Regions from separate parts of the Homo sapiens genome. Here region 2 is linked to region 1. The links are contacts of gene promoters, found by promoter capture Hi-C in blood cells and fetal thymus (Javierre and others, 2016). All regions are on one chromosome and are shown on one strand. The core of a region is centred on a gene start or on the middle of the fragment in contact, and the rest is flanking DNA. Distances in the headings are between cores, read along the strand shown.

Evidence for each region. Contacts are between HindIII fragments. The CHiCAGO score rates a contact against its expected background, and 5 or more counts as called.
Region 2: a contact is called between a fragment that was not itself captured here and the fragment with the promoter of PCCA-AS1 in region 1, in 2 of 17 cell types (M2 macrophages and M0 macrophages). The highest score is 6.0, in M2 macrophages.

What each region holds. Positions count from the first base shown.
Region 1 is chr13:100,476,564-100,482,603 of GRCh38, forward strand. PCCA-AS1 (PCCA antisense RNA 1) reads right to left here and starts at 4,452. Exons shown (of 5, transcript NR_047686.1): 1 at 4,417-4,452; 2 at 766-850. The region is part of intron 21 of PCCA (propionyl-CoA carboxylase subunit alpha); the gene reads left to right. It overlaps LOC107984574 (a long non-coding RNA gene), which reads right to left and starts at 4,644. Exons shown (of 3, transcript XR_007063850.1): 1 at 4,557-4,644; 2 at 3,698-3,867; 3 at 2,984-3,200. The HindIII fragment of the contact is 6,979 bases long and covers 1-6,040 here.
Region 2 is chr13:100,233,408-100,239,067 of GRCh38, forward strand. It overlaps PCCA (propionyl-CoA carboxylase subunit alpha), which reads left to right. Exons shown (of 24, transcript NM_000282.4): 8 at 2,435-2,471. Among named protein-coding and RNA genes, the nearest start is that of PCCA, 150 kb to the left of the region's middle. The HindIII fragment of the contact is 3,132 bases long and covers 2,097-5,228 here.

The sequences.
Region 1 (6,040 bases), core at 3,202-5,701:
ATACCCATGGAAGTTTGTGATCCATTTACTCATTCATTTATCCAAGTATTTGATAGGTACATATTTTGTGGTGGACAACATTCCAGGTATTGTGGAAATGGACCAATTTCAATAGGACAGAAATCTGAATCACAAATAAGCATCCAGTGGCAACCAGCTGGTGTACACACTGCACCTAAATACAAATTCATAGGTATCAAAATCACCTTCATGTGTCACACAGTCACCTTTCTTAGTTCCTCATAGCAAAACTGGGGGACTCTGAGGTCAGTCCCCAGAGTACCTGGTTGAGGGGTGGGGCAGGGCAGTTGAATAAGGGAGTAGAATGAATGAAAACTTTAGACTCTGAAGCTCGTCACTTTATTCTGCCATATTTTAGTTTTGTGGTATTAAATCTCTACAGAAATTAATTATCTTGCTTCCTTTCTTGAATTCCTTTTCAAATGTTATAGTTACTACTTCAGTAATTCTATCCCATCTGTTTATATACAAAAGGTAATTTACCGGGTAATGACCGAGGGCACCTGCTTTAAAGTCAAGTGCATACTAATTTACTGGCTATTTGCTTGGCCTCATTTACGCTCTCTCGGCACAGTTTCTGGGTCTGTAAAATGAGAGTGATTGTACCATCTACCTCATTGGCGACAGTGAGAATTAAATGAGTTGGTGCATGCATAACACTTAGTACAGTTCCTGGCACAATGTTACCACTCAATAACTAGCAGTGTGGAAATATTTCACACCTAAGAGTAAAGTTTTATTTACCTTTAGGAGACAGGATCCTGGGAACTTTCTGGTTGCCATAGCTGCTTCCTCAAGGCAACTAAGTTAGATGTGGAGTTTCTAATTCCTGTTGGAAATTCAGTGAATAAGAAAATACTACTGAAAGTTATACTATTTTCTGCATGTTAATGATTTGATATTATACAGCTTTAAGTTCTCAGTGCTCATTCGGGTAGTGCAGGTGAGAGACGGCGGCTTTAGGGGCAAGGCAGTGACCCTGTGGATGATGGGAAGAGAGTTGTTAAGAAATAATTGTTTAAATCATCCAGAGAGTACTGTAGCAAGGATTGTTCCTAAAAAGAACTGTGGTAATCCTTGTTGAATAGCAAGTTTGGACAGTATACGGTAGGGAAATCTCAGGAATACTATAAACAAATAAAATGATGGGGTGAGCCCTATGAAGCGTGTGTTCTCCTGTGGGCAGTGGCAGAGTTACCCTTCACCCCTGAGTCCTGATTTCTCAGCCTCTTCATGTGACTGTCTCCTTGGCTCCTGGGAAAGAAAGAAGCCTCTACCTTCCCTGGATTGAATGCAGCCCTTCTTGTCCCGTCTGCAGAGCATGAGGAACAGCTGGCCACCTGCACCTGACAAGGCCTGTGGCCGCGGGCAGTACCCAGCCCTGCGCTGACGGCCGCTCCAGGTTGTTGCTGGATGTGGCGAGCTCGAGCTAATCGGGCCTTTTAGGCTTTTGTTTCTTAGCAAATGATCAGCTGTGAACTGCCCTTGGCCTAACTTGGCCTTGTTAGCTCAGAAGCCCGCAATTCATTGCATTTTACCCTGAAGAGGAATGGTAGGTCTGAGGACATATTTATTTTTCTGTGGATTTTTTTTCCCCTTGATCCAGGAAATTGTCTGTCTTCAACAACCTAGTCTTGTCTCCTCCAGAGAAAAGTTTTGAATCCTCTGAGGAGCGGTCTGTCGCCATTGTGGCCTGTGGTCAGTGGGTCAGACCAGAGCCCTGACAACTGTCTCCCTTCCTGGGCCCAAGTGGACACCAGAGGAGTTTGGGGCTCTGGGATCAGCCTGCTCTGGCGAGTGTCCTTTCCCTCCCACTCTGGAACTGTAGCTTCTCAGCCCTCTTCTTGATGCTGGGCGGGTGCCTGGGAGGCCCCACCCCTTCCCTGGGTACCTGGGGAGGTCCCCGACTGAGAGGTGGGAAGACCTGTGTCCCCTCCCCCAGCACACTCTCAGCCTCTGACTTAGTTCTCATAGGAGGAGGCAACAGCTTCCAGGAGCTGCTGCTGTTACCCTCGACGCCATGATGAGGAGGAAATTGCCTGGTCAGGAGGGCTCGCCTGCCTCTTCACAGCCAGGCGTACTGTAGCGGCCTCAGGAGCGGTCACCCTGGGAGTGACTCCTCACCTCCTAAGCAGCCCTGGGGCATGAACACTCGTCCTGGAAATCCTGCTAGGCTGGCTTAAGGGAGTTGCTTCTAGCATGCCTTTCTGGATAAGCCTAGTAGAATTGCTTTTTCTACTATAAAAAGGAAAGAATGGGGCTCCTCATATTATAGTAACAGAATTCTTGGTACTAGAACTGGTAAGCCAAGAGAAATGGAAGCTGACCAACTTTTCTCTCTGCACAGGGTTCAGAGGGATAGAAACACACAATTTGACTCTGCATGCACCAGAACCTTCTCACTCAGGGTAAGGGACAGCCACAGTTTCTGGGACGTTACCTAAAAACACAATAATCCCACTTATTCTCTGACAGATAATCATCAGTCATAGCCCCACTACTCACTTTTATTAAAGAAATAGCTGGGCCCTTTTAGGTAAAGCCCTTTATATACTGGGAAAAAAGGTCATGTTATCCATTCCTCAAATCCCAGGTAAACTCCTGCTGGTTACTCAAAAATAAAAACCAAAATGAAAGCCCATTCATCACAGGGATGCCTAATCTTGTAATGAGGGAATCACTGAGTGTGGCACAGGGAAGACTCCTGAGAGATTCTGATGGGGTACAAGTGTGCTGACCAACGTCCTAGATACAGTGGGCCCTTGAACAATATGGGGGCTAGGGATATCAACCCTGTGCAGTCAGAAATCTACGGATACCTTCTGACTCTCCCAGAATGTAACTGCTAGTAGCCTACTGCTGACCAGAAGTCCTACCAATAACATACAGTCATTTAGCACGTATTTGGTATGTTACATGATTATATACTGTATTCCTGCAATAAAGTAAGCTAGAGAAAGTGTTAGGAAAATCATAACGACAAAATATATTTATTATTCATTAAGTGGAAGTGGATCATCTTAAAGATCTTGATCTTCATTGTCTTCACGTTGAGTTGGCTGAGGAGGAGGGGGCTTGATCTTGCTGTCTCAAGAGCAGCGGAGTCATAAGAAAATGCACATTTAAGTGGCCCCATGCAGTTCAAATCCATGTTGCTCAAGGCTCAACTGTACACCGAACTGAAAAATGATTCCATTTTTAGTAGGAAATGGCCTACTCTAAGTCCTACTGCTTCCCTTTGCACTTGATGGCAAGGGTCTTTAACTGTGTCAGTGGAGCTGGTTTGGCTCCACTGATAGAGACTCCCTGACCATCTGATAGGCCACTTTTGTTAGAGGAGAAGGTACCCCCTTGCCTACCTGTTCTTTTCTTACTTCATGGGTCTTGATTCCTGACTCAGGAGCACCCATTACAGAAAAGCCCTGGGACTAGATCTAATTTTATTTAATGAAAAACCTATGGAGCATTTACTCTTGCTTCTAATAAATTAACAAGTCAGGGCTTTCTTCTGAATAGGAGGGTCTCTTGACTCTTTGATATTTGACTTTTGAACCAGACTAGATGAGGCAGAGCTTCAGCACATATTTTACCAGTGTCTTCAGCAAATGCCTTTCTCTTTGCAAAGCTCCATATTACTACCAAAAATTAACCCAACTAAATTGTAATTTCTACTCACCCACATTTATTGAGTACTGTGTTTCCTTGAAAGATCTCAAACAAGGCACCTTCTTGCAAGATCTTCACCACCAGACCTTCATGATAGTCACCTCCTCATTAGGCTGAGACGCATACACAGTGATTACGTTCAGACACAGGGACTCCTGTGTCTTAAGACCTTGTGTGACCCTTGTAATTAAAGCATTACACTTTGCAAAGGCTGACAGTGGTATAGGGGCTGTCTGAAACTATTCAGCCATAGCCTGGTCTCTGCTTTCTTTTTACAAATGGGAGGTTGGCTAAGGCAGACACAGGGATGGCTAAGAGGGATAAAGGACGTGACTTCCATAGAACCTTTTGTTCCTAGAGGAACCTCTCCATGAAACACACAGTGAAACTAGATTAAACCAAAAAACGCCCTCAGCTCCAGCAGATCCTGAGCTACAAAGCACCTCTTCCCTACCGAGCCTTCTCACCCATGCGCACTGAGTTTCTGAGTATCAGAAAGTCAGGTTTCTGAATCCCTAGAGAAAGTAAAAATTTCCTTGGACACAATGGGTTTTCTTTGCTTCCTGCATGACAGTCACGAAGGGGAATCTGAAATAGAGAACTTGAATATGCGGCTTGCTGAAGGGAAGTGTACTGTACAGTAGCCCCCCTTCTCCACGGGGGATCCATGTCAAAATCCCCAGGGGATGCCTAAGACTGCGGATGGGACCGAACCCTGTATACGCTTGCCTTTAATGCCTTTTCCATTTCAGCTCGGCACTTAGCCCACACTGTGGCTGTAACTTTTGTAGTTTTAGGTACAGCAGCAAAACTAGCACAAATTTCTTTGTCCTTTTTCACAATTTCATGGATAGAAGATTGATTCTTACTGTAGATCTTAGCAATCTCAGCATACTTTTTTTTTTCTTGAGAACTTTCACCTTTTAACTAAAGGAAGGACTTCATGGCTGGTTTTTGGCATATCCAGATTGCCAGCATCATACTCTTGGAACTTTGAGGCCATTGTGAAGTCAAATAATAGTTCCTGCCAGGCACAGTGGCTCACACCTGTAATCCCAGCATTTTGGGAGTCCAAGGCAGGTGGATCACTTGAGCTCGGGAGTTTGAGACTAGCCTGGGCAACATGGCAAAACTCTGCCTCTACAAAAAACACAAAAATTCACCGGTCACGGTGGCACATACCTGTAGTCCCAGCTACTCGGCAGGCTGAGGTGGGAGCATGGCTTAAGCCCAGGAGGTGGAGGTTACAGCGAGCCAAGATCATGCCACTGCACTCCAGCCTGGGCGACAGAGCCAGCCTCTGTCTCAAAAATAAAAAAGGAACCTAAGCACTGAGACCCCCTGACAGTAGATCTGGTAACTGAGATGGCCACTAAGTGACTGGTTGGTGGTGGGGGTGTCTACAGCGTGGAGATGCTGGACCCCGAGAGAGAGGGTTTATGACCCAGGCAGGATGGAGCAGGACAGCACAAGATCTCCTCACACTACTCAGAATGACTCACAATTTAAAACTTATACATTGTTTATTTCTGGAATTTTCCATATAATGTTTCTGGACCATGGTTGACCACAGGTAAATGAAACCTTGGAAAGCTAAAACCTTGGATAAGGGGGGACTACTGTAATATAAAGTTTACAGTTCCTGGGGTGAAAGCTCAGGCAGACCCTATCTATGCATTATTACAACGTACCATCAATTCAAAACCATAAATTTGCAGAAACATCGTTGCTTTAATTCCTAAAATATTGAATATGAATAATAAAAATAATATATGCTTTGTCTTAGAAGCACCTTTTTAATATGATTGATGTGTATTGATCTGTTTCTTCATTCTAACATGAACATTTCTGTAACAGTCATTTCCCCTGAAATATCTAACCTGTGGGTACCTGAGACAGCTTGTCAGTTAGGAAGAACAGTGGTGGCGATAGCCACGTAGGGCTGGTTTGGTCGTGAGTGCAAGTGTGGTTGCAGCAGCTAGAGCAGAGGACTGTGTGGAGAACATGGGTCAGGTCAGAAGGCAGTAGCCAGGAGGGATGCAGAGTCGAGAGAGAATTTGTTGATTGGAATGACTCAGGTTGACTTTCAGGATGAAGAGAAGGGGCCAATAGAGAGGGAAGAGAGGACAGTTGATGAGGCAGGCTCCAAGAGAGGAGGGCAAAGCGAGATCAGGGGCTCCAGTGAAATGCCTGAGTGTGATGAGAAGAGCGCTGTCTTGTGAGGCTAGAGAGGGAACCAAGGATGGGTGGGCCTGGGAAGGCTGGAGAGGTAGCCTGTCAGGGAGCTGCTAACCCACTTAGAAATACTCTTATTGACATAACAAGGTTTTTTGTTTTGGTTTTTTGTTTGTTT
Region 2 (5,660 bases), core at 2,413-4,912, 240 kb before region 1:
TTTTGTGATGATTGTTGGTCCTTTTTTTAGTTGATTCAGAGTTTGATTAAAGTTTTTTAAACTTATGATGTTATAGGCAACCTTTACAGTGTGATGTCACTTAGTGCCATTGAATTTGGAGCTATATAGGGCTTTTTATCTCTTCAAAAGTAATTTTGTAGAGCCTGATAATAAAACTTCATGTTCTCAAAGACCATATTGGGGCTGAGTGTATAATATTTAGTAGTTTATTATTGAAACAGTAATAGAGATTTTAATGTCCAGTGCATAATAGGTCCTCAGTAAAGTATTTTTGGATGAATGAGTGACAAGTGAAAAGTTAATTTTTAAGGCAGCTTGATTTTATTTGAAAGTTCATTTAGAAGAATCTAATTTTCATAGTAAGAAGACTTAGCATGCTGTTAAGTTGAAAGATAAGCTTGCTTTGTGGCATGCTATAGAAGTGTTGGATTTGTGGCAGTGGAATTTTTAATTTGCTGTGTCAGATATAGATATGGCTTTATGTATCCATACACACCCAGCTATAACATGTATATTCAAATAAGTGACAAAATATGTCTAATGAATTTTTGAATTACCTTTTAAAACTTGCCTGTTAGTTCTCTCAAGTGATGAACTTTTTACAATAGCAGTTTATTTTCTCTCATCACGTTGGAAAGAAATGTTAAAAGTTTTCTTCTAGGTTTATTATAATCCAGTCTTCATCAGCCATCACTCTTCCTGTATTTTGTTCAAGAGGCACTAATTGTTCGCATTTGGCAGGTTTAACACTTCCTGACAGAGAGGCTATTAAGGGGAAGTATTCTCCAATAACTGTCACTGGCTGGAACAAAGAACCTTCCAACTCAATGTGTGGAAACCACTAACATTCTTAAATGACCCTTTTCATGGATTTTCATCCCTTTAAGCTAAAGTTTGGAGAATGTAGGGTCAGCGAAAACAGCAACGTGTAATAAAGCAGTAAACCTTGATTTTGGAAGGCATAGGGTGGGAGATATAGATTTATCTCTGACTTGAAAACAATTGTTATTTGGAAAATCTCATTAGCAGATGTGACTGCTTGGAGTAAAAAAAAAAAAAAACAACTTAAAACTGATGTCGCTTTCAGGACCCCTTTGAACTTAACAAGCACCTATTTGTGGAGCAGACTGGCTAATGAAAGGAAATTAAATTTTTCTGACAACTTCCCCTGCCAACCTCCTTATTCAGGGGATGTTATTAGGTACTGAAGAACTTTAAAGAAGATTTTTTTTTATTAGACATAAGTGAACCAGTTATAAACATCCCCCCCCGCCCCCTTCTCGGAGGATTCTGACATGGTTGCTCTACATTTTAAACGTATTAGCTTAAAAGCTTAAAAAACACTGGGCTTCACTTCAGCATTTTAGTCATTTTCTAAAAATTCAGTCACACTTACCAGCTGTGGTTTCAAAACAATATTGTCAGTCTTTGTGGTAGTTTAGTTTGTGTCACTGAATTACACAAACACACACACACACACACACACCCCACACATACCCACACACACGAAGGAGGCTTAGATTTCAACATTATCTTTATTGTTATTTGGGGAAATGATTCAGCAGTGTCCTGTGTTGGATGTGTTAGGTGAGGGTTAATGATCAGTGAAATTACTTAGATTCAAGGGAAGTTTTTGTCTTTTCATCTTCTTAGAGGTAGAAGTGGCATTGGTTAATATTTAGCAATAACTAATCCTTAAATGGATAAACTTTTACCCCTTACTGTTTAGGAAGGTATTTTCTTTCTTTTGCTTTTTGGAGTTTTTTCCTCCAGTAGTTGGTTCGTTGAAATTAAAGTTTTTTTTTAATTTATGTAACAAGATACAATTGTAGAGATAAAATATGTACCTGAAAAAAAAAAAAAAGAAAGAAACAATAGAAAAGAAAAGGTAATGCAGATTACCAAAAGGATTTTTTGGAACAATTCGTAATTCCTGTAGGTACTGGAAATTAACTTTCATATTTCTGCAAAATCGATCAACTACTCCCAAACAATAGAGAATCAACTCCCCCTGCTGACAGAATCTAGGAAAACATGACACATAATATTGGACAGAAACAAGCTGGCTGCGGACAAGCTTTAATGACCTGATTTATGATTCAGTATTGATTGTAAACATCTAAATTCTGCCATTAAATTCCGGCAACTGCACCAAATCATTGGCAATTCTGGTAGTGCTTCCTGCCAGCTCATTTCAACTGCTTTGAGTTTCTTAATATAATAATGATGAGGTAGAATTTACATTCCACTTATGGTATTAATTTTACATTTCTCTGAATGAAAAGGGTTAGAAGGTAGTAAAATTGAACATTAAATGAATCGGAGGAGACAGTAGTGCAATATATGACTGCCCTAAAGACATTGTGCAATGCCTCATGGGATTAATGTTGAGTCTCATTTCCTGCTTTTACAGGATGCAGAAGAAGCTGTCAGAATTGCAAGGGAAATTGGTAAGTCCTTAAATTAACTTTGGTAGGATTTCTGTGTCTTTCAGCAGATACGGTTGAGTCAACAGGTAATAAGTAATTCCCATAGAGCAAATAATACTTTAATAGTTTTAGATTTTGATTACTTGTTGCTCTGGAAGAATGTATCAGTTGAATTGCCAAATTCTATTATTAAAGGAGACTGTAAAGAGTAATTTGACCTTAACTATACATAACTCTTTTGTAAGATGAGATCACAGGCTAATTCAAAGAAGGAATTGTCTTAAGAATTCTAAAGATTGGATATAAGTTTAATGTCAATTTATATGTACATAGTTGAATGTGGTTTGTTAAAATTAAGAACATTTGGATTAAAATGAAGATACCATATGTGACATAGTTCTTTAAGTTTTTGCCTTTTGCTAAGATGTTAGGTATCAACTTAATCTTGTTAGATGGGAAAGATAAAATAGATGTGGGAAATTAGAACTGAATGATCTAAATTGGAATAAAAGGTAGACTGGAGGAGTTTTTAATGGCTGTTTTACATGTACTTGTATTTGGGCAGTGTTTCCCAACTTTTTAATTTCTTTTCTTTTTCTTTTCTTTCCTTTTTTTTTTTTAAGATGGAGTTTTGCTGTCATTGCCCAGGCTGGAGTGCAATGGCACGATCTCCGCTCACTGCAACCTCTGCCTTCCAGGTTCAAGCGATTCTCCTGCCTCAGCCTCCCTAGTAGCTGGGATTACAGGTGCCTGCCATCACGCCCAGCTAATTTTTTGTATTTTTAGTAGAGATGGAGTTTCACTATGTTGGCCAGGCTGGTCTCGAACTCCTGACCTCAGGTGATCCACCCGCCTCAGCCTCCCAAAGTGCTGGGATTACAGGCGTGAGCCACCGCCCCTGGCTCGCAACTTTTTAATTTTAAAAATATTCTTGGCGGTCATGAGAACTATTTTTGGTATCTGCTAATTGAGAAAATGTGTAAGGGCATGCTATTATATGGATTAACAATATTGTTAAATAACTTTGCAGGTTTAATAATCAAATCAGTAATTGTATACATTTGACAGAAATTTGTACAGATGAGAGAAATTAGGCAATGCTTGTAGGGATCCCAGCGTCTTCTCAGCATTCCTGTACGCCTCAGTCCAAGCATCTCATCGTGCCACACGAACATTTCTGTAGGCCTGTTTTCTCACTAAGATTATTTAGATCTATTTTCTGCCTCTAGAGAGCATTTGATTTGGCAAAGCTCATATAGTTGTGATATGTAGAAATATCTTATTGGTCTGGAAGTGATCACTTGTACTAGTAAGCGTGTTCTTTGCAAATGGGACAGTCTAACTTAGCAGGTCTTTAGTGACCTGAAAAGCAGTTTGGCTTATTGCACCCTTGTTTGTAGTTGGTACTGTCTAAATTATTTGGGCTTTGCCCATCATTAAGTGTGTTTTGTTGTTTGCTTTGCAAAAATCTATCTTATTGATATAGGTCCTGGATTTAAGACCAGACCATAGAAAATCTTATTTTATCTGACTACCTCATCTCTTCATTTTTTTTTTCAGAATCATTAACATTTCAAAAAGCCTATCAGTACTTCATAGGAACATTTGCTCGACTGCTAAATAAACTGGACTATATAGAACTGATTCTGTGGTTTCTTTATGGAGAAAAATCAAAAGTTTCTGTTCATGGTTTGAAATCACTGGTATTCCTCATTGCCTAAGAGGCATATAATATACCTACTGGCTTTTGAGGATAGTTTTCTAAAATAGTTTAATTCCATCCTGTCAGACATCTTTACATTTAAAAAGCTCTTTTTCTAGTTCTAGGTTAGATATTATTATCAACCTCATTGGATATAATAATACTGTTATTATTATTATTACAGTATCTACATAAAGGACAATATTTAGAGAAATTTAGGGAAATAAAGGGATTAGAAGAAAATTTACAGTTACACTGCAGTGCCACATTTTGAATGGTGAATTTTGGACTTGCGAGCATTCCCTTTGTGTAAATAGCAGGCCGTGGATTGCTTTGCTTCCTTTATGCCTTTTCTTCCACTTTCTTTCTTTCTTTCTTTCTTTTTTTTTTTTTTTGAGACAGACTTTTCACTCTTGTTGCCCAGGTTGGAGTGCAGTGGTGCGATCTCTGCTCACTGCAACTTCTGCCTCCCGGGTTCAGGTGATTCTCCTGCCTTCACCTCCTGAGTAGCTGGGATTGCAGGCACACACCACAATGCCAGCTAATTTTTTTGTATTTTTAGTAGAGACGGGGTTTCACCATACTGGCCAGGCTGGTCTCGAACTCCTGACCTTAGGTGATCTGCCCACCTCAGCCTCCCAAAGTGCCGGGATTACAGGCATAAGCCAGTGCACCTGGCCATTTTCCACTTTCGTTATAACCTGTCACCTTTAAGATAACCAGCTCATCATGATGGGCCTCTGTCTAACTAGTTCTCATCACTTTGCTTTCCTCCCTCAATATTTTAATGCTGTGCTTTACCTCCTTTTCATTTTTTATTTTTTCCTACTGAAGTTACCTAATCTAATCTAAGTCTTTTTTCTTTGTACTTGGGCACATCCTTTATGACTCCTTTCTCTTTCCTGTCCTTCTTCTAATTCTTCCCCAATTACTCTCTCTTGCTTGTGAAATAAATGATAGCAATCATGGCTATTAAGTATAAGAGTACTGGTGTTTTGCTTATACTGAAAGAAAGGGAAACCATAAAATTTGAGGTAAAATAAACCATAAAGAACTAGGGTCATCAGCTCTTACAAAGCTTTTAGAATTTCTCTGAAAATCTCTTCTGAATCACCTCAGAAGCCTCGCATAAAATCTTTTCCTTGAAGTGCTACTTTCTAAAGTAAATTAAATTATGTTTTATTAAAGTCTGTTGGCTTTCTGTGTTGTTTGATATTTCGTAAGTTTTTTACTACTGATTTTATTGAGATATATCACATTTTAACTATGATTATGATTCCATGTGAAAATGTGTTCCTAGTTCTAAACAACTGATTTATAATCAAACCTTTGAACCTATCCATTTGTAAGTTGTTGATTGTCCATGTGTTATACCTATTCATAGAGTTCTCTCTTAATTCTTTCTGTGTTATGTGATGAAAATGAAGTTTATCCTGTTTTATGTGATTTCCTCCTCTCTCATGTCTTTGCTTTTCTTCTGGAAACATTAATCTATGCTGCCAAAGTAG